Linked DNA regions of Homo sapiens: regions 1, 2, 3, 4 and 5 are each linked to region 6. The links are contacts of gene promoters, found by promoter capture Hi-C in blood cells and fetal thymus (Javierre and others, 2016). All regions are on one chromosome and are shown on one strand. The core of a region is centred on a gene start or on the middle of the fragment in contact, and the rest is flanking DNA. Distances in the headings are between cores, read along the strand shown.

Region 1 (2,998 bases), core at 82-2,581, 4.4 Mb before region 6:
CTGAGGTCAGGAGTTCCAGACAAGCCTGGCCAAAATGGCGAAACCCCGTCTCTGCTAAAAATACAAGTTAGCGTGGTAGCTTGCGCCTGTTGTCCCAGCTACTCGGGAGGCTGAGGAAGGAAAATTGCTTGAACCCGGGAGGCGGAGGTTGCAGTGAGCCGAGATCGTGCCACTGCACTCCAGCCTGGGCGACAGATCGAGAATTCATCTCAAAAAATAAAATAAAATATAAATAAATAAAATATAAAAAATAAAATAAATGTAAAATAATAACTAAAATTGTTTTAAGTAATGCTAGATCTGGGACCGAATTCAGCAGAAAAGGCGAGCGAATGAGATTTTGCTACACTGAAGTTTCTGAGTATCTACAAAAGTCTTAATTATGAACTAATTTTTTTCTTACATTTCAACGTACTCCAAAAATACGTCAGAGGCCTTAAAGAAAATTTTATTTGTTTTTGTATGCAGTGGGGGCAGGCGGTCTTAAAAAGTAAAGTATGTATGAAAGTAGAAGGAACTCATAGTGACATAAATGTTTTAAATTCTTTGGAGAAATGTGTTTGATAAGGCAACATTGTTATAAAAGTAGAGGTCTTTGTTTCTCAGTTGGAAATTGGTCAAAACTTTTAAAAGGCTTCTTGAAATAGAATTGTTTCTTAGGAAATCTCATTTCTATGCTAAGACCAAGTCAACATAGGGGGGAATTCGACGCGATCTGAGGCGTAAGTCAAAGCAGATCATGAACTCTTGCAGCAAACCTGACCTACAAGCTTGCCCCCGACCAGCATAGACCACGAGCTGCAAGGGGTCTGAGACAGTAAGGCCTGAAGTTCACCGAACTCAGTTTCAAATACCTGTGGTCCCCCCAAGAAGGGAGACACGCTCTTCCTCTCGGGTGCTACAACTGGCGCTGGGGAACGGTGATGCTGGACCGAAAAGACAAGCGCAGCCAGGCAGGCCACCGCGGCCAGCTTCAAGCTGACCCGGTATCCCCGCGGCCGGACCGCCGGTCTCAGAGGGAGACACAGAGCGGACGAGTCACCGAGACAACGCGGAAAAAACCGCCCCGCACGCCGGAGGATAACGAGAGCTGCCGGGCTGACGTTACCTCCACCCACTGGGCCGCGACGTCCCCATCGGCTGGGCGAATTTGCAGCCGGGCGTGCAGGCACTGCTGTAGGAGCGCCCGGGCCTGAGGAATCCGGCTACCCTCAGCCATGGCTTAAGCCAGCGCCGCGGCCGGACAGTTACTAGGCCATGTGTCGCTGGCCCCTCCCTCGACGCGCTGGCGGGGCAGACGAGGCGGGGCACGACGAAGGGCCTGCGCCGATTGCCCAGTGGCCCCGCCCTTAGGAGGGCGGGGCCTCGGACTGACTCTCGAATGTCCCGGATGTGCGGTCTTGGAGGCCGGCGTAGCGCTAAGCTTCTCGGCAGCACCTGCCCAACTCTGTAGAAGGCGCTCAGTGTATACTTTTATTAAACGATTGAAAAGACTCGTTAAATCTCTTTCCTACAAACCTTTTAAGAAACATTTTTCACCTCAGAAAGCTTAGGTTCCAACTGTTGAAAAATTTTAAATCTGCTTGATTTAAATTCATGTTATGCCCATATGAAAGTAAGTAAACAAATAATCGAATCATAAAGCAAGCGGAGATGGAACTAAAAGCTATATATACATCCTTCAAAATTTTCCTTATTCCAATCAATAAAAACAATGCTGCCTCCTCTATCGGGAATGCCATAAATTATTCTGATTCCACAGTTGTGAAAAGGTATTGGTATGCTATACGAATACACATTCTTTAGAAGATATCCTTGTTAAAAATGTTCTTATCCAAGAAAGTATGATTGTTAATAACTTAGCCCGCTACTAATACAAAAATAAAACAGCTTATTCTGATGCATATGACGTAAATTCTGTGATGCATTTTCTGGAAGTACATATTAGAATGTAAATAAAACTAAACAAGGGCTTGATTTTCTTTCCCATGTAACGTATTCCTTAAACATGCATCAGATTAGCATTTATTTGTCTATGGGCTTGGATGGTTTAGATGAGGAATAATAGTGTTACCCTGATTGCATTACCCAGGTCATTGATTTGGGCTCAGTTGACACAATGTGCCTATACATTCGGATCTGTTGTTTAAAAAGATGACATCACTGACAGTGTTGCTATCCATACAAAGTAGTGTGACTGAAGAAAATAGTCCATGCATAATCAACAGTCCTTTGTACACAAAATCGAAGCTGCTTGTTTGCTGGTTATCTTGCAGCCAGGTTTACACTTTTAGTAAAAACAGAAAGCAAAATCTCACATGATCTCTGATTGTTGCATTGCAGGGATTCCAACAGTTGTTGACATTTGTCTGCAAAGCACAGACAAGTTGAATTGCTTCATGTCTGCACCTTTATGTCATTATAACTACTGAGTCTCTTTTCTCTCCGGCTCTCAGATTCAGATTTTACAGGCCTGAAAGAAACTTTGACATACAAACCATTAGCTATGTCCCAGAATAAGAAAAGACTTTGGTGTCCATTTGTATGTGGCTGCAGGAAATAGGGAGGTCTATAGAGAATAGGTTATGTGGTTCGCAGAGATCTTTCTACAGAGAGGGTTTCTTTAACAAATTGGGAAACCCTTCCTGTGAGTAGAATAGATGGAGTATGGATGGTAATGGTTAGCTTCTCAAAAATCACTAATTACTTTAAACCCTCCTATTGAGTGAGGATCTCGTGGACATTGCTGTAGGTACTGTAATAGGCTGTGGCTCACTTATTTTTTACTTCTATTTGCAGAAGGCTATAGAGAGTGGCCACCAAAGACAGCATTTCCTTTCTGTATTTTATTTTTTGAACACTTAGTTTCATTCTGCAAATAATTTAAGAAGGAAGGACATGCATGCAATAAAATAGTAAAATGTGAATTAAAGCATTAGAAATAAAGAAACTAGAATTATGTCAGTAAGCCACAATGGGGGAAATTGAAAACAGGTAA
Region 2 (3,019 bases), core at 422-2,921, 3.6 Mb after region 6:
GCGATGGAGAAAAATGATGATTGGGAGGGATACTGGGTCAGAATATAAGGCGTTAGTTCTGGAATTACAGTGAAGTCCTGATGCAAAACCAGAACAGTTATGTGCTTACCCTCTGCAGACCCTGGCCAACTCCCTCGCTGCCCGCCCGCCTCCTCCGCCCGACTGTTACTTTTAGGTGAACTACTGGGGAGAAGTTGAGTGTGGTGGTGTATGGGGAGGGACTTTCAACCCTGAAGATCAACTTCTTCCCCAATCCCTTTAACAAACACTCCTCCTCCTCTTCGGGCCTTGTTCAGTTAGCCGAAACTATTTCTGGTAAGAAAATGGCTGTTACAAAATTTCTTTTAGGCAGCGTCCTATGAGTACCTACTCCTTCCCTCACCATGAACTATTTCTAACAGATTCAGAGTCAGAAAATCGTGTTATGTGTATGTTTTGTTTCTTCCAAGGCTCACCCACAGGCCTCACCCTCCCAGTCTTAACGCTCCCATATATAAAATGAAAAGTGACAGCGCCTGTCAGCTCCATCCCACGGCCACCAAGAGGATGAATGAGTGCCTGGAAGGCGCCAGAAGTGGTGTCTGTTAAACACCCCGTCCACCACTGTTTATAAAGTATCGTGATGAGTCCCGTTATGCCTTTCCGCTCAAGGAAACCGCCTAGTTAGAACCAACACTCTCCGTCACTGAGGAAGGCAACACTGAAGTTGGCCGGGCACGTATTATGCACAGAATCTGTGTCGGGGTGCGGGGACGGAGCGACCCCCCGTTACCGGGCGGGGCGGGGCTCAGGGCAAGCCTACCTGTTGTTCCGGATGCTGACCAGCACGCAAAGCACCAGCTCCAAGTAGGTGCGCAGCACTTCCAGCCAACGAGCTGAGAGCTGCAGGGCCTCGACTTCCTCCCCTCCAGTCCCGGTGTCCGCGCCACCTCCGTCCCCTGGGCCACCGCCGCTCAGATAGTTCTCGGCGGCGAATTCAACACGCAGCTCTCGCACGAACCAGCCGCACTTGCGCATGAGGAATTCCAGCCGAGGCTGCTCCGCGGGCGAGACGCGGAGGCAGATGCGGAGCTGGGGCCACAGGGCCGGATAGAAGAGGCACTCACGCCAGTGCGAGCAGGAGGCCGAGGCCCGCAGCCGGTCGGGCGCCGGCAGAAAAGAGAAGATGTGCACGATCAGCTCGCTGGGCAGCGACGCAGCGCCCGCCGCCTGCCCGCACAGAGCCATCCGGCCCCGCCGCCGGCTGCCGGCTCCCGGCCGCCCCCGCAGTACCCGGAGCAGCCCCCGCAGCCGTCGCAGCTGCTGCAGCCGCAGCCGCCGCCACCGCGCCACCCGGGCGGCCCCGGCTCGGGTTCGAGCTCCCGGCGGTCGGGGCTGCGGCACTGACAAGAACAACAACATCAATGACTAGGAAGAAGGGGGCGGAACCGTCGTGGGTCTCGGCGGAACCAAGTAGAACACAAGTTGTGGAGAGGGGGAAAGGCCTCTGCGGGCGTGGCCTGCCGGGAGCCAGCCTCTGTCTTCTCAAACTCTACTCACGTGCGTCCGAGGCCGGCACACTGAGTAACTGCACTGCCCTCGCTCGTAAACTTCAGCGGCCCGGAAGCCTCAAGGCGTACTGTAAGGAAAAGGCAGCCCTCCCTGCGCCGGTCGGCAGAGACAGAGAAGTGGTAGGAGCTGAGTTTGACGTCGCCGCTGGTGGGAGGAGTCCGGCGCGCACCGGCGCGACTTCCGGAAGAGGGGAGCGCCCGATTGCCTGTAGGGACGGGAGGCGCGGCACGTGATCTCTGACGCACGCAGGCCGCGGGGCGGGGCGGGGCTGGGCGGGGCGGGGCGGGGCGGGGCTGGGCGGGACTGGAACCGGCACTTGGCACCCCTTACGCCTTACGGTGGCCGCTGCGCCCAGTCACATCTGTAAGTCGGTTAATTTTGGCGCTCGGTCGATGGAGGTGGCGGTACTCTGGTTTAGTGCGAAAGGTCGTCACGCTTCTTTGTAAAACGTTTCTCAGTTTGGGCTGAGGACCCTGAGCCAAAGTGGCGGCATGCAGGGTCTTTCTCAGCCATCCCACCTGCCCAGAGTAGGGTTAAGAATTCCTGAGATTGCGCCGCTGAGAGGGAGCTGGCGGACGGGCGGGCTAACCCCGGCGGGCTGTGCCGGGAGGGGCGGTGTGGGGCGTGGCGGAGGCCGCGAATGGACCTGCCCCCTCGGTCCAACCACGCAGGTGGACTTCCGCGCACTCGCTGGTGTGTGGGGAAGCAGTGAGGACAGCGTCACCCTTTGGATTCAGAGGGAGAGAAAAAAATTGGCAAAGGGATCTGAGATCCGCAGGTTGTGACCAGCCTCTTCTCCAGGGCTTGAGGAAGGGTCTCTTTTCCCTGTGCTGAGATTTAAGGCTCTCGTTGAAAAGTTCACAGTAATGACAGAGCTTTGATTTTTTTTCTTTCTTCTTCTTCTTTTTTTGCCTGGTATCCCTAACTTAGATTTTCCAAACCATGTCCCTAACTTCACCACAGCCTACTGCAAAGTAAACTCTGGTTGCAAAGAGTGGTGAAGTCAGAAAAGATTAAGTGACTTTATGTAATAATCGAGGGTTGCTTTAGGGAGGCTGCCTCTTTATGTAATAATTGAGAGTTGCTTTAGGGAGGCTGTGATGTTGGAATAGCATCGTTCTTTTGTGGTAAACACCAAGACTTTTTGGACTTTTTTTTTTTTTTTTGGTTTTAAGGAGCGGAGAATTTAATAGGCAAGAAAGAAGGAAGAAGGCTGAAGGAAGAAGCTCCCCACTACAGAGACAGACGGAGGGGGCTCCCAAGACGAAAGAGGAGACCCCCATTCTAGATGTTCTTAACCCTTTGAGGGCAAAGCTCTCCGTTTAATGCCTTGCACATATCAGGTTGCCAACAACATGGTGTGGTTTATCAATTGTGATAGGTTACTTATTCGAGCCCCTGTTTACAAGAGTTTTAGGTAATTATACCTTATTAATTTTAATGAACTCTTAGAGGGCGACCCCAGTCG
Region 3 (3,435 bases), core at 155-2,654, 4.6 Mb before region 6:
CAGATAAGGGTTAGATTCAGTATTTTGAGGAAACTCTAAACACCTTGATCCAATCCCCCTCCAAATTGTTTCTCCTTCAAAATTACCTCCAATTTCACATATTCTGCTGACTTCTCAATTTACTTCTATTTTAAAGATATCCAAATACAAACGACAATTATATACAAGATTTATCTATGAATAAAGAGTTGGTTAGGAATTTTGGCAGTCTTGGCAACTATTCTTAAAAGTTAAAAAAATAAAAAAATTAAAAAAGGAAAGGCTAAAAGTAAATGCAATGGACCAGCAGGTTACGGATCCGAACGAATGTAGGCCAACCTAGGGCCCTCTTTCCCCAGCTTCACAAGATAGGGCAGTTGGTTAAAAAAACAAAAACAAAACCGAGAAGCAACCCCAACAGGTAAGTCATTACAAAAGCGCCCCGTAAGCGCCCTGACTGGAGGACAGCTTTGGGTCCCACGTAACGCAGCCGCAAGTGTGGGAAGCCGGCGGCGGGGCGCGGTGGGCACCCAACGGCGGCGACCAGCGGGGTTGACCCCACACCCGGGGCCCGGCCGAGCCGGGCGCTGAGAGGCGCTGGCCCCCGCGCTGTGGTTCCCCAGCACCAAACCCCGCTAAGTTAACTACCTGTGTCTACGAGGAAGGGAAGTTCTGGAGAAGCAGCAGCAAGCCTTCGTGCCCGAGAGGAGGCCGCCGGGCCAGGCAGGGCGCCGGCTCTCCCGGGAGCTGCGCCCGGAACTCGAAGGCCTGGCAGCGAACCCTTCTCAAGGGCAAAAGGAGCCGGCCTGAGGCTCTGGCGCGGGCAACCGGGCCCCGCCGCCGGCAGGGCCCCGGGAGGGGAACAAAGGGGCCAGCGGGGAAGTCGGCAGCAGCCTGGCCGACCTCACTCGGCGCCGGGGTCTCGCTTTCCGCCACTCGCCGGGCGTCCGGGATCCGCGCCCCCACGCAGGGCCCTTCCGACGGTCCGAGGCGCTCCCGCCTCCCCTTCCCGCAGGCTCTTACTCGGGCTTGTCGTTCCAAACCGCTCCGATCCAGCTCCCAACAGGCCGCCGGCAGAGCCAGGCCCGGCCGCGGCCCTAGAGTTCCCAAGAAGCCGCAGGCCGCGCAGGTCGAACCGGGCAGGCGGCACAGGAAAAGCCGCGCCTCGTCCCTCCCCTTCCTCCGCGAGGACCTGGTGACAGGGAAGCGAGAGGTTCTCGCGTGCGGCAGCAGCCAGCGGACGTCCAGTCCCCAGCACGCGGCTCCTCAGGCCCTGCAACTCAGAGGCCCGCGCGGTGCTGCGGGCGACGGCGGCGGCGGCGCGGCGGGGAGGCCCAGTCCATCGCGAACCGGGAGGGGGAGGGGAGGAGGGTCGAGGGAGAGCCAGGCGGGGAAGCTGCCGAGGGCAGCCGAGCCCGGCGGAGGCGGAGCAAATCCACTCCCCCGGCGGCGACCCCGCCGGCGGCCACCTGGGGCGCTGCGGGACGGCCGACCGCCGCGCAGGGGCGCCAAACCGGGTACGCCGCGTCGCCGTCCCTGCCCCGGAGCTCTCGCCCCCGCCGCCTCGGGCTGTGTCGTACGTTTCTGCCGCGGCTTTTCTATGGTGCGCCCTGGCCCCCTTTTCGCTTCCCTGTCAGTCCGAGCGCGCTCATGCACGCACGTCCAGCTTGCTTGGCGCCGTGGCTAACACTTTGCGCGCTCCTGCGGAGGGCGTCGCACGGCACAGCACAGCAAAGCTGCGGCCCAACCTGTCCCCGCTGAGCCTTCCGCCCAGGCCACCCGCACTCAGCCACGATCTTCCCTCCTCGCGCACGGAAGTGCGTCGCGTAAGGAAGGCGTCTCCCCCCGCTCCTGGGAGGCCGACCGCCTGGCGGTTCACCCCAAAGAAAACCCTTCAGAGCAACCCTGGGAAAGAGGTGCTGCCGACGATTATCAACGTTGTACAGATGAGACACTGAGGCTCCAGGAAAGCGCAAATGCAGGCCCAGCGCCGTGCCCGGTCGGCAGCAGCACTGAGAGTGCACTTTTGACTACGTTTCTTGTGGCTTGTGGTCACAAGTATGTCTGTGGTTATTCTTTTCAAACTTTATTTCACACGCATTCAGAATAAAGGATGCATGCTTATAGGACGTAGTTGGAGCCCGGAGACGTCCTACTGTACTCTCACTTTCAGCTTTTAAACAAAAAGAAAAATTAATACGACATGATAGTGTTTGAGACATGGTCCCTCAGGCAACCAGAGGAGCTGCTAGGTATGAGTAAAGAACAGAATTTGGGTCCGCTGCGTTTCCTGTAATCCCAGCACTTTATGATTTTACTCTCTTGAGGCCCGGAGTTCGAGACCAGCCTGAGCAACATAGACCTGGTCTCTGCAAAAAAATTAAAATTTAAAAAATAATTACCCAGATGCGGTGACGCACACCTATGGTCCCAGCTACTGGAGCGGTTGAGATGGGATGATCCCTCGAGCCCAAGAAATTGAGGCTGCAGTGAGCTTTGATAATGCCACCTCACTCCAGCCTGGGCGACTAAGCAAATTTGTCATTTCCAAAATACTGGTTCTTTTTTTTCTTTCTTTTTTACTACTTCTTTAGAAAAAGAACCAGTATTTTGGAAATGACAAATTTGTACTTCAGATAGCTATCCGCGCATGTCCCGTTGTCGCAGGTAATGGTCCGTTTAGGTATCCTGTTAACGAAACAAGAGGAAAAAGAGGATTCAACTATTTTGTCCCAAGTACAACACATGAGGATAATTATTTAGATGTCATGAGTGTGAATTGGAGCTGCCAGGAAACTTCAAGAAGGAAGTGGCATTCCCTCTGGACCTTGAAGAATGGGTACAATGTAGACACTGAAAGGAAAGGGAAGAACATAAAGCCTGATATGTTCCTAGACATAGGAAAGGTCACCTGTGCCCCCAGCAAAGAACCAACAGTAAGCAACAGAGAGAGAAATTTGGAGCTAAAGTGGGGAAGGCCTTGAATGAGGAATGCAGAAATTAGGCTGAGCTAAGTAGCAAGTTCTGGACTACAACACTGGAAAAACTAGTCTTAAGAAGACTAATTATGGAAAGTGTCTAGAACGACTAAAAGGATCTATCTAGACGAGACTAGCTGGAGGTTGTCGAAATGCTGCAATAATGGAGGAAAGAAAAGTCTAGTTATTGGCAATATGAATGGGGAAGAAATCTAAAAATAATTTTTGAAAGAAGATATATCAGAATTTAAATGATTAACTTAAAAATTTCCGTCCAGGCTCCATGGCTCACACCCGTAATCCCAGCACTTTGGGAGGCAGAGGCAGGGGGATCACTTGAGCCCAGGAGTAGGAGACCAGCCTAGGCAACATAGGGAGACCCTGTCTCTACAAATAATTTTTAAAATTAGCTGGGTGTGGTGGTGCACACCTGTAGTCCCAGCTACTCAGGAGTCAAAGGCAGGAGGATCACCTGAGC
Region 4 (2,989 bases), core at 184-2,683, 3.7 Mb before region 6:
GAGTGGCTCGAATAAAGCATTTTAGTTATGCCTTTTAGAAATTAGGGAGCAAGAGATATATAGAAAAATTAGAAATGTCTCTTCTACCTTTATTAAGTCTACCTTTGAGAAATATGAAGGGCAGGAAGACGGAAAAACGAACAGAACTTCTGCTGGAATATTGTGACAAATTTACTGACAAATATTTTCTAATAGATTTTTACCAACAGGCAGTTTTTGTTTTCTTTACTGACAGACCGTAAATGTACTTCTGGTTGGCAGCAGCTGCATCATTATAACACAAAAGCAACCTTGGCTAACTTCAGTACCTTATGTAACATAAGAAATAAAGAATAACTTGAATTTAAAATACTTTTTATATGTTTACTAACATTAAACTATTTTCAATGCAGGAAATAAATATTTCCCCAAAGAGGAATCCCCCCTCAATTACTTTCTTTCAGACTTAACAAATTGGAGTAGATGTGGTTTTGCTCATTCTTTTATCTGCTGGCAACTATTTTAAGTCTCCTGTGCAAGGCAGATTCCGATGACCTCGGGAAAGTCACAGGACCTCAGTTTCTTCAATGGTAAAAGCAAAGGCAGTGGTTTCTACCGTCCTTTCTCACTGCACCATTCAGCGTCAGTGCCCTCATGAGAAACACACCCAAAGCCCAGTGTGCTCTACCCCAAAACTTGTGAAATTTCTAGAGTCTCAAAAAAGTGAATATGTTTAAGGCAGTATAATAAAAGCCAGGTGGACGACAGTTCCTAAAGTTAGGCTGGTAGTGGCGTGAACAGGGGTCTTTTGGGCCACCCTGAGACCCGCCCCACGGGGCTTCTCGATCCACGTCTTGGCTTCTCGCTCCACTTTCACAGAACGTACTGAATCAGGGGCCTGCATCCCCGTGCCGTGCCGAGCCGACGGAGAAATGGACTCCTCTTCTCGCTCCTGTGGAGTTTCGTCTTCTGGGTGAGTGTGGCACCGGGTCCTGGGCGGGTGATGTCTGTAGTTGGCGAGCGATCCTCAGCCAGAAAACTGGCTGCGCACACAGGCGCAGACACGCGAACATGTTCCTGCGAACGAGCTTGGGCGCATGTTTTCCTCCCTTGCTTTCTTTAATGCTCAGAGACCATAAGGGGATTTATCGAGAAGCATTCGGTGCCCATGCCCGGTTTGGAACCGCGAGCACAATATCTGGTTCCTTTGCAGTACGGTGGTTTGCTCTTGAGTTACGACCAGAAACCGGAACAGAAGGAAAGGGAGAAGCAGGGGAGGTTCGGGGACGACGGCGCTCCGGGCAGTAAGGCAGTAGCTTCCAAAGCGTGGAGGATGGGACTGAGGAGGAGCAGAATACGGAGAAAGAGGGAAGCTGAGGAAAAATACTCACGCCAATGGGTAAAAGGGAAAAGGTGAGAAGGAATGGAGTAGGGGAGGGAACCAATGGTGGGAGAGGCGGAGGAAGAAGGGGGAGGGGTAGAAGCCAATGGGGGAGTGGAGGGGAGGGAGAAGCAGAGGGGAGGAGGGAGCGGGGACGCGAGCGAGGACGCGGCCCCGCGCGCTCGTCCCCCTCCCTCCGACTGGATAGCTCGCGCCTTCCCAGGCTCCCGGGAGACGAGGGCAGGGGCGGGGCCGTGCCGGGTGCGCGGCGCGGGAGGCGTCGCGAGGTGAAGGGGCGGGGACGGGGGATTGTGGGGAGGGCAGCGCGGGTTCGCGCGCGCGCGCGCGTCCCGTCCAGGCTGCGCCGCCGCGCCGCCGCTCCGCCCCCGGTCGGGTGTGTGGCTGCGCGCGCCGGGAGAGATGCTGAGGTAAAGTTCGGGAGAGAGGGAGAGAAATCCGTCAGCGCGAGGGAGCCCGAGTGGCCGCCATTACTGAGCCCGGCGCGGCGGCGGGCGCTGGGGAAGGGGGGAGGGACGGGCCGCCGCTGGTGGCGGGGAGGGAGGGAGGGAGGGTGGGTGAGCTGGCTGCGGGAGCCGTGGGGCTCAGGGTTTCGGGGCGTGTGTGTCGGGGAGGGCGGGGGGAGGTGGCTGAAGGGACGCGCCGCTCGGTGAGCGCGCCGAGGAAGAGAGGCGAGCGGAGAGTGGAGGAGGAGGCGGCGGCGGCGGGAGCGGTCCCCAGGAATGTCGCTGCCGCCGCCACCGCCGGGGCCGCTGCCGTTGAGGAGGAGACGGAGGAGACCGACGTTGTTAGGTAGGACCTTGCGGACCCCGCTCCTCCAAGCCTGCCTGCCCCCTCCCGGACGGGGACCCTCCTGCGGCTAGCTGCCCCGCTCGGTCGCCGCTGCCGGTTGTAACCAGTTGAAGGGGCTGGGGCCCCGCGGCCGCCGAGGGGAGCCTGGCGCTGCGCTCGGTTTTCGCAGGCCGGGCGGGCAGCAGCTGCAGCGTTAGGGATACGTTCGGCGTGAAGGGCAGAGAGGCCGGGGGAGGGGGTGCTTTCTCCACAGGTGACGGGGCCAGGGTCGGCGGAGGCCTGATGCTGGCCGGGGATCGCCGGCCCCGCCAGGCGTCCGCTCTCGCCCGCCGCCTCACTTGCTCGAGTCTCGGGTGGTCCGTCGAGAGGGGAGGTGGCGGTGTCCGTTGGCCGGGTTGCTGCTGTTAACGAGTTCCACCTGGAAAGGGTACACGGGGCGGGTGCAGATTCGCGGAAACACAGTCTCGGTTGCAAACTTAAACGCCTTGTAGGGGGGATCGGCCCTTTCACTTTCCCTCATCTCCTCGACTCCTCCCTGGGTTCTCTTCACCAATTTTCCATCTGCTTTGAAGCTTGGAGTAAGATATGAGAAGTTGCACTGCGCATCCAGAGCCCAGAGTCCTATGGGCTGACTGCGACTGGGTTGAGGCTTTGATACTGAGTTTTCGCTAGAATAACCTCCAGATTCTTCCTCTCTTTCCACTAAAGAAAAGTATCGGGGTGGGGGTGGGGAGCCGCGCGGGAGCGCGCGCGCACTTATCCACACAGAAATACTCCCTCTCACCCTCCCTCTTCAGCGTTATTAGAAATGCAAGAGAG
Region 5 (3,369 bases), core at 391-2,890, 3.4 Mb after region 6:
TTTTCAACTCCCACTCCCATCCTTAAACAAGGCCTACAGAATTCCACTTTCTAACTTTCAAATCTGTTATCTCCTTTTCTCACTATCCCTGTCTTAATCCAGATCTTCATCTCCTCCTGCAGTGACTCCCGTAATAAAGGATTTTCCCCCTACAAGGATCTTCCCTCTCTAGCCCAAACACTGGATTACTTTTCTAAAATGCAAATGGTCCACATCATTCCCTTCCTTAAAAATATTCCCTCGAAAAGATCCGAATTCTTTAATTACACAAAGCTTTCTAACTTCACCTCTCAATTCTTCTCACTCTCTATTCAGTCTAGTCCAAAGAAATGCTTAAGTGTATTTAAATCCACCACTCTTTCATACCTCTACCACTTTATCTTTGCCTAGGATACATTTCCTATCCCCACTCTCCACTCATTTTTTATCAATAGCATTAAAGAAAGGGCTCCTGACTTGAGCATGACTTTGGAGTATTTCTAAAATCCGTTACAACTCCATGATTCTACCAGCCAATACTCAGTGTTAACTATTCATTAAATCACTATTCCCTAAATACTGTGAGGCAGGAGTATTATTTTATTTAATTTATCTAGCAGTGTCAGCAGTGACAGGCCCACAATGATTGAATAAGGACTCCCACATATTAGAAGTAACCGCTACATACTATCACATTTCGGATTAAATTAGATTAAAAAAAAATCTCTACAAGGATGGGGCCATTGTTTCATTCACTACTATATCCCTGGCACCTAGAAATCGCTCTGACATAAGGGCACTAAATAAATACTTTCTGAAATAATTAATTTAAATTATGTTCCCTAATTATCCTAACGCCTGCAAACTTTCCTTTGCAAACTCAACCTTCATTAGGCTTCAGGTCTCAAGTTGTGTGGAGTTGTACTGAGCATTAGGAATGAGGAAGGAGGGACAGGCTTCTCAGGTTGGCACAGGTCTGTCCAGTGCATGGCTCAAGTGCTGGAAGTGCCAGCAAAACTAAGTAGGCTCTGCAGTTAACCCTCTCGTAAATAATGGCAGGGACAACACTAAAAGTACCAAAATCTGTGGCGTGCAAGACAAACGTACGGGAATAGACAAAAGAGAATCAAATAGAAGAAGATACGAAAGAGAAAACGATGAAAGATGACGGTTCAAAGGAGACAACTGACAGGTTCTAGGGTTTAGGACACCTGGAGGTGGACCATTTTGTGTACACCTCGGGAGGCGTCGGGTGGCGATGGGACAGGGGTTGAAGGAAAGCACTGAGGGGAAACAAGGTGTGTCACCGCAAAAGGACCTCAAGGTTGTGTGGCAGCACTCACCACCTCCCCCTGCTCCGCGGACTTGTACACTCCAGACACCATCTCGTTATGGAGAAGCAAAAACAACGCCTCATCCGCCATTTCCTGCTAATTCTTCCAAGCTTCGAGTTTTGGCTCCCGTTTGAGCTGGTCTGGGGGTTCCAGCTCGCGCCTCAGCGACTTCGCCGGCGCCGCGGCTCCGTCAGGCCGCCATTCTATCCCTGTGGCTAAGAGACCGAGGTATTCACACGACTTCCCAAAGGCTGGTACTGAAATGAGTCTGGTACTGGAGAGAGCCCACACTTCGGGGCTACCAAATCCTAGGGCCGAACTAAAGTCTGACGGGAGCTCTAACCAAAGCCAACCAGCTGAGATGCGATCCGGCCGCTGGGCGGGGGCGAAAAAAACAACTTCCGGTCCCCTCTACCCCGGCATTCGGCCAGCTCTATGATCACTGAGTTCCTCTCTCCCAAGCCCGGAGAGGCCAGCGCCCAGATATGAGGAAGGTTCCCCTCTCACCACGATGTCGGGGGCAGAGCAAGATAAAATAAGACCTAAAGCTCCCGCCTGGCCCGGGCGCGGTGGCTCACGCCTGTAATCCCAGCACTTTGGGTGGCGGAGGCGGGTGGATCACATGAGGTCGGAAGTTCGAACCAGCCTGAGAAACCCCGTCTCTACTATAAGTACAAAATTAGCGGGGCCTGGTGGTGCATGCCTGTAATCCCAGCTACTCGGGAGTCTGAGGCAGGAGAATCGCTTGAACTCGGGAGGCGGAGGTTGCGGTGAGCTGAGATCGCGCCACTGCACTCCAGCCTGGGCAACAAGAGTGAAACTCCGTCTCAAAAAAAAAAAAAAAAAAAGAGCTCCCGCGGCCACCTCCTTGTTAATTAGCAATAGAAGTTAAAAAAATTCTTTTGGCTTCATCAAAAGCATCCACTTCCTGCCATATGTTCTTCAAATATGAAAAGTTGTAGAAAGAGTTTAAAATATACGTTTTCACAGTGCAAATTTTTTAAATATTGAAAAGTTATCCCAATTCCTATTGAATTAAGCCCGGGTATACAAAAAGAATTAGAGCCATTTTGACCACCAGGAATTTTCCTGTTAGTGGGGTGCAAGGGACAAGGGAAGTGGAGCAAACGAAAAACAAGATACACTTGAACCGGAAAATACAGACTAATCAGAGGATTAGGTGAAAAGTGCTATAGAATTCAGAAAAGCGATGTCACTGCAGGATGGAGTTGCTAATAATCTACAGCAGTGTGAGACAACTGTAGGAATTGTCCCACTGCATGTGCAAATAAATACACATGCTACATCATAGTATGTACATCTTAAATTTGGCAAATTCAACCGTAAGCATGTTGCTTAGCCTGTGATTAGTTCTTCCATTGGTAATTCACAAAACAAAATTTTTCCCCAATTGTCCCTGTTGTTTTCCCCCAAATTAACATACCGCAAGGTGGCTCATGCCTGTAAAATCCAGCACTTTGGGAGGCCGAGGCACGGGGGGTGGGGGGGATCACGAGGTCATGAGTTTTGAGAGCAGCCTGGCCAACATGGTGAAAACCCGTCTCCACTAAAAATACAAAAATTAGCCGGGCGTGGTGACAGGTGCCTGTAATCCCAGCTACTCGGGGGGCTGAGGCAGGAGAATCACTTGAACCTGGGAGGCAGAGGTTGCAGCGAGCAGAAATTGTGCCACTGCACTCCAGCCTGGGCGACAGAGCAAGACTTCGTCTCAAAAAACGAAACACACACACAAACTCTTCATGCCCTTTCACAGGAATTTAAGATCATGTTCCAAAATTTTAATTGTGGTAGGTTTTTTTTTTAAGCATGTCCCTTCTAATGTTTGAATCAGTTTATTCCATTCATCACGTAAATCCAGCATAAAAGCTCCACTTAAGCCTTTGAAAACACTAAATTGTGTAATTTTGAAGAGTATTTTGCCATGGTAATCTTAATTTTTCCAGCACTAAATTTTCAGTTATGCGAAATCAGGTCCTTTATGTCTAGATGACATTCTTGCCCTCATCACTACCATCAAGAAAAAGGAGTCCAAGTC
Region 6 (3,179 bases), core at 280-2,779:
TTACTTTTTTCACTAAATAAACATCACTTTCCAAAACAAATACGCATCAGGAGGACAGCTCGAGATAAACTCTGAACTAGGATTCAGGCATCTGGATGAATGCATCTTCTTCAGCCAGTTCCACCATTAACTCTAAGTATCAACACAGGCGAAATAATTTTCCTTTTCATCTCAAATGTCTTCATCTAAAAAATCCAACTACTGGACCAGATGTTCCATAAGTATTATTACAGCCTTTATCAGCCTACCAAATGACTAAGTATTCAAAAGAGTCGATTAACATTATATTCAAAACTTAGAGCACTGTTTGGTCTACCAGCAAAACAGAACTTAAGGGCAGACGATAAAAAAAATATTTTTAATTAAAAATAGAATTATATACAATTCTCGAGAAGCAAAGGATGAGTTAAACTACCTATAATAGTTCTCCCTCTAAATGACTAGTGATGAACAAGGTGCATTAACAAAAGGGCGGGGCTCCTTCCCACAGCTTTTTGGGAACCGCCCACTTCCCAAAGAGGTGTAACTGCTACCTCCTTGTCTTCATCTGCCAAGAAACTTGAAAGATTAAGGTTTATATTGTCTGAGAGAGGATTTTATTTTTCTTTTTACTTGGGTGGGGTTGGCAGTAGTCATCTGGCAAACATATCCTATAAACACCATTATCCACAACGCCAGGTCTCCCCACAAAGTCTTAAAGATCTAAGTTTTTAGAGTAATACCAATTTTAAAAAATAAGTTCAGACTATTAACTCAAAATTAGATTACTGTGTTAACAGTAATCAGTGCTGCCAACTGCCAAGTTTTCGCTTCTCCGAATTATTCACCCTCCCGCGTCTCCGCAGAGGCTACGATTTGCCCTCTCCTGCACCGCGCCAGGTCCCGAGAGAGAGTCCGCAGGGGCTCCCAGGAGAGGGAAGGCCGGGCAACCCAGGCCTCGGCGCTGCCACCCCTCGCTCCTCACCGATGACGATGCGCAGGTGCTTGAGGCGAGTCAGTGCGTCCTTCTTGGTGTCTAGCACCTTCTGGGTGGACTTCTTCACGTCCCCGTGCGGCTTCTTGGAGAACATCCTGTCGCTGCCACTGCCACTGCCACTGCCACAGCCGGCTCCCAGCCGGGTCCCGGCGGCAGAAAGTGGAGGGAGTGGACGGGGAGGAGACTAGCCAGAGAGGCTCATTAGCTCCCCAGCCTTGCGGGCCAGGGCAGAGCCGACTCCTTCCCGATCCAGGCCAGGGCCGCCACCTCCACCCGCCTCGCGCCGCGGCTCCAAGGCACCTTCGGCCCCAGCTCCAATATGGCGGATCCCTCTCCCGGCCCTGCACGGAGCGAGGCAGACCCGGGCTGGCCGCCTGCCGCCGCCGCTCGTCTCCAGCGGCCGCCGCTCGCCGCCACAGGCCGGGGCCCCGGACCCAGAGCCACGAAGGTGGAGCTCTCGGCGGCAGGAGCACAACTCTCTCCCTGAGGCCCCCTTAAGGTTGAAGCTTCTTTAGCAGCTTACACCCTGCAGAGGCCGAAACGGAGACGAGTGTGGTAGTGATGGGGTTTCACGACTCTGCCGTCGGTGGCGAACGGTGTCCGTGGCAACCGCCTTCTGACGTCAAGAGTTCTTGACGTCATGCCAGCATGAGATCACCCGTGGCACTCCCCGCCTTGGTTTCCTGTGTAAGCAGCCAAAGGAGAATCTCAAGAAAGGCAAGGAAGGTAGTTACTGCGTGCTCCATTGTAAGCCAAATGATAGTAATAAGCAAAGAGAAGTAATCTTTATTAAATATGTCCATGATTTATCTTTGAAAATGTGCATAAGTTGTTGTGGCCACCAGATCCTCTAGCAGAAAGATAAACGAAGTTACAGTTGGGCAATTTATTCTGTCCTAAATCTATTACTAATAATATTTCCTGCACTATGTATGTGATTTCTTTCATATTTTTTCTATTTGCAATATCCCTGTTTTTTGCTGCAAACAACTTGACAACAGAAAGGCTTAAGCAGAGGTATCTAGGTTTTTTAAATAAAAGTAATCTTGCTTTCCTTTTCTATTGTGCTTTTAAAAATCTTTTCCCCATCTGCACCCCACATAAAGATGAATATATTGTCAGTTTTTCCTCTGCAAAGAAGAATTCAAGGTTCTTATTACATTGATGGAGTCATCTGAAGAATCTGCAATAGCTGAAAAAAATCCGTGAAATTCTGAATGACATAAATTGAAATTTTTATTGGAACCCTTTTTTTTTTTTTCCTTTTTCCTTTTCTTTCCAGACAGGGTCTCTGTGTCCCAGGCAGAAGTGCAGTGGTGTGATCTCAGCTCACTGAAGCCTCGAACTCCCAGGCTCAGGTGATGCTCCCACCTCAGCCTACCGAGTAGCTGGGACCACAGGTGCGCGCCACCACATCCAGCTAATTTTTGTGTTTTTTGTAGAGACGGGGTTTCGCCATTTTGCCCAAACTGGTCTAAAACTCCTAGACTCAAGTGATCCGCCCGCCTCAGCCTACCAAACTGCTGGGATTACAGGCGTGAGGCCACTGCGCCTGGCCAGGAACATTTCCTCCACAAAATAATTTGATAAAGAGTGAGTTTGCTTGTTTGAACTGTTTCCTTCTATGTTCTCACCCATAGCAATAGACTTGTCCAATGAAATATGTGATTAACATAGAAAAATAACAAAATCAGCAAAGAAGAGAGATGTAAGACATTTGCCAAAATTATGTTAAAATATAGTGCTTTGCTTAATGGTAGTTTGTTTCAACAACAATCCTATATTTTTTAAAGTACAAAAAATTTATTCAGTTTCTACATGTAGGGTTTGTTTGTATCATCAAACTTACAAGCCATACATGTTTTGAGGAAGCTTATAACATAATAGAAAAATAAGGGGATTGTTCAAGAGATTTTAGTTCTAGTTCCTCTCAGCATCAGTTTTCTTATTAATAAAATCAAAATAAGGTCTGTCCCTCACAGTTTCGTGAAATTTAGGCAATAATACAATGTTTTCAAGCATGATCTTTAGAATTACATAGACCTAAATTAGACATTCTGTTTTTCACTTGCAAGGACTTACTTGCTCTCGGGCCCTTGGCATGTAGTTCAGTCTCAGCCTGATTTTCCTCATTTGTAAACTACATCAGTGATTGTGATAATTAGGTGAGAAAAGTATTGAAAGTTACATCTATAATGACACA

Evidence for each region. Contacts are between HindIII fragments. The CHiCAGO score rates a contact against its expected background, and 5 or more counts as called.
Region 1: the fragment with the promoter of DTD2 here is called in contact with the fragment with the promoter of RALGAPA1 in region 6 in 3 of 17 cell types (fetal thymus, total B cells and naive CD4 T cells); the score reaches 14.5 in fetal thymus.
Region 2: the fragment with the promoter of FBXO33 here is called in contact with the fragment with the promoter of RALGAPA1 in region 6 in 3 of 17 cell types (total B cells, naive B cells and total CD4 T cells); the score reaches 14.7 in total B cells.
Region 3: the fragment with the promoter of HECTD1 here is called in contact with the fragment with the promoter of RALGAPA1 in region 6 in 4 of 17 cell types (non-activated CD4 T cells, total B cells, naive CD4 T cells and 1 more); the score reaches 10.8 in non-activated CD4 T cells.
Region 4: a contact is called between the fragment with the promoter of ARHGAP5-AS1 here and the fragment with the promoter of RALGAPA1 in region 6, in 4 of 17 cell types (activated CD4 T cells, fetal thymus, naive CD8 T cells and 1 more). The highest score is 13.2, in activated CD4 T cells.
Region 5: a contact is called between the fragment with the promoter of TRAPPC6B here and the fragment with the promoter of RALGAPA1 in region 6, in 9 of 17 cell types (total B cells, total CD4 T cells, naive B cells and 6 more). The highest score is 15.5, in total B cells.

The regions. Positions count from the first base shown.
Region 1 is chr14:31,456,175-31,459,172 of GRCh38, forward strand. DTD2 (D-aminoacyl-tRNA deacylase 2) reads right to left here and starts at 1,332. Exons shown (of 3, transcript NM_080664.3): 1 at 1,109-1,332. The coding sequence starts at 1,219. RefSeq lists enhancers at 351-936, 937-1,522, 967-1,176, 1,317-1,496. The HindIII fragment of the contact is 653 bases long and covers 769-1,421 here.
Region 2 is chr14:39,430,762-39,433,780 of GRCh38, forward strand. FBXO33 (F-box protein 33) reads right to left here and starts at 1,672. Exons shown (of 4, transcript NM_203301.4): 1 at 803-1,672. The coding sequence starts at 1,401. It overlaps LOC105370461 (a long non-coding RNA gene), which reads left to right and starts at 1,678. Exons shown (of 8, transcript XR_007064121.1): 1 at 1,678-1,758. RefSeq lists silencers at 661-790, 1,231-1,360, 2,101-2,270 and an enhancer at 1,461-1,710. The HindIII fragment of the contact is 7,836 bases long and covers 1-3,019 here.
Region 3 is chr14:31,206,389-31,209,823 of GRCh38, forward strand. HECTD1 (HECT domain E3 ubiquitin protein ligase 1) reads right to left here and starts at 1,405. Exons shown (of 43, transcript NM_015382.4): 1 at 628-1,405. RefSeq lists enhancers at 297-810, 1,323-1,834, 1,812-1,981, 1,835-2,346 and silencers at 452-661, 782-991, 1,292-1,631. The HindIII fragment of the contact is 4,913 bases long and covers 1-3,435 here.
Region 4 is chr14:32,075,266-32,078,254 of GRCh38, forward strand. ARHGAP5-AS1 (ARHGAP5 antisense RNA 1 (head to head)) reads right to left here and starts at 1,434. Exons shown (of 1, transcript NR_027263.1): 1 at 154-1,434. ARHGAP5 (Rho GTPase activating protein 5) reads left to right here and starts at 2,039. Exons shown (of 7, transcript NM_001030055.2): 1 at 2,039-2,170. RefSeq lists silencers at 1,460-1,719, 2,080-2,299, 2,098-2,392. The HindIII fragment of the contact is 3,747 bases long and covers 1-2,740 here.
Region 5 is chr14:39,168,693-39,172,061 of GRCh38, forward strand. TRAPPC6B (trafficking protein particle complex subunit 6B) reads right to left here and starts at 1,641. Exons shown (of 6, transcript NM_001079537.2): 1 at 1,323-1,641. The coding sequence starts at 1,403. RefSeq lists enhancers at 1,099-1,688, 1,448-1,497, 2,279-2,868. The HindIII fragment of the contact is 6,900 bases long and covers 1,422-3,369 here.
Region 6 is chr14:35,807,766-35,810,944 of GRCh38, forward strand. It overlaps RALGAPA1 (Ral GTPase activating protein catalytic subunit alpha 1), which reads right to left and starts at 1,530. Exons shown (of 42, transcript NM_001346249.2): 1 at 965-1,530. The coding sequence starts at 1,070. RefSeq lists enhancers at 1,180-1,740, 1,577-1,676 and a silencer at 1,257-1,496. The HindIII fragment of the contact is 1,366 bases long and covers 1,481-2,846 here.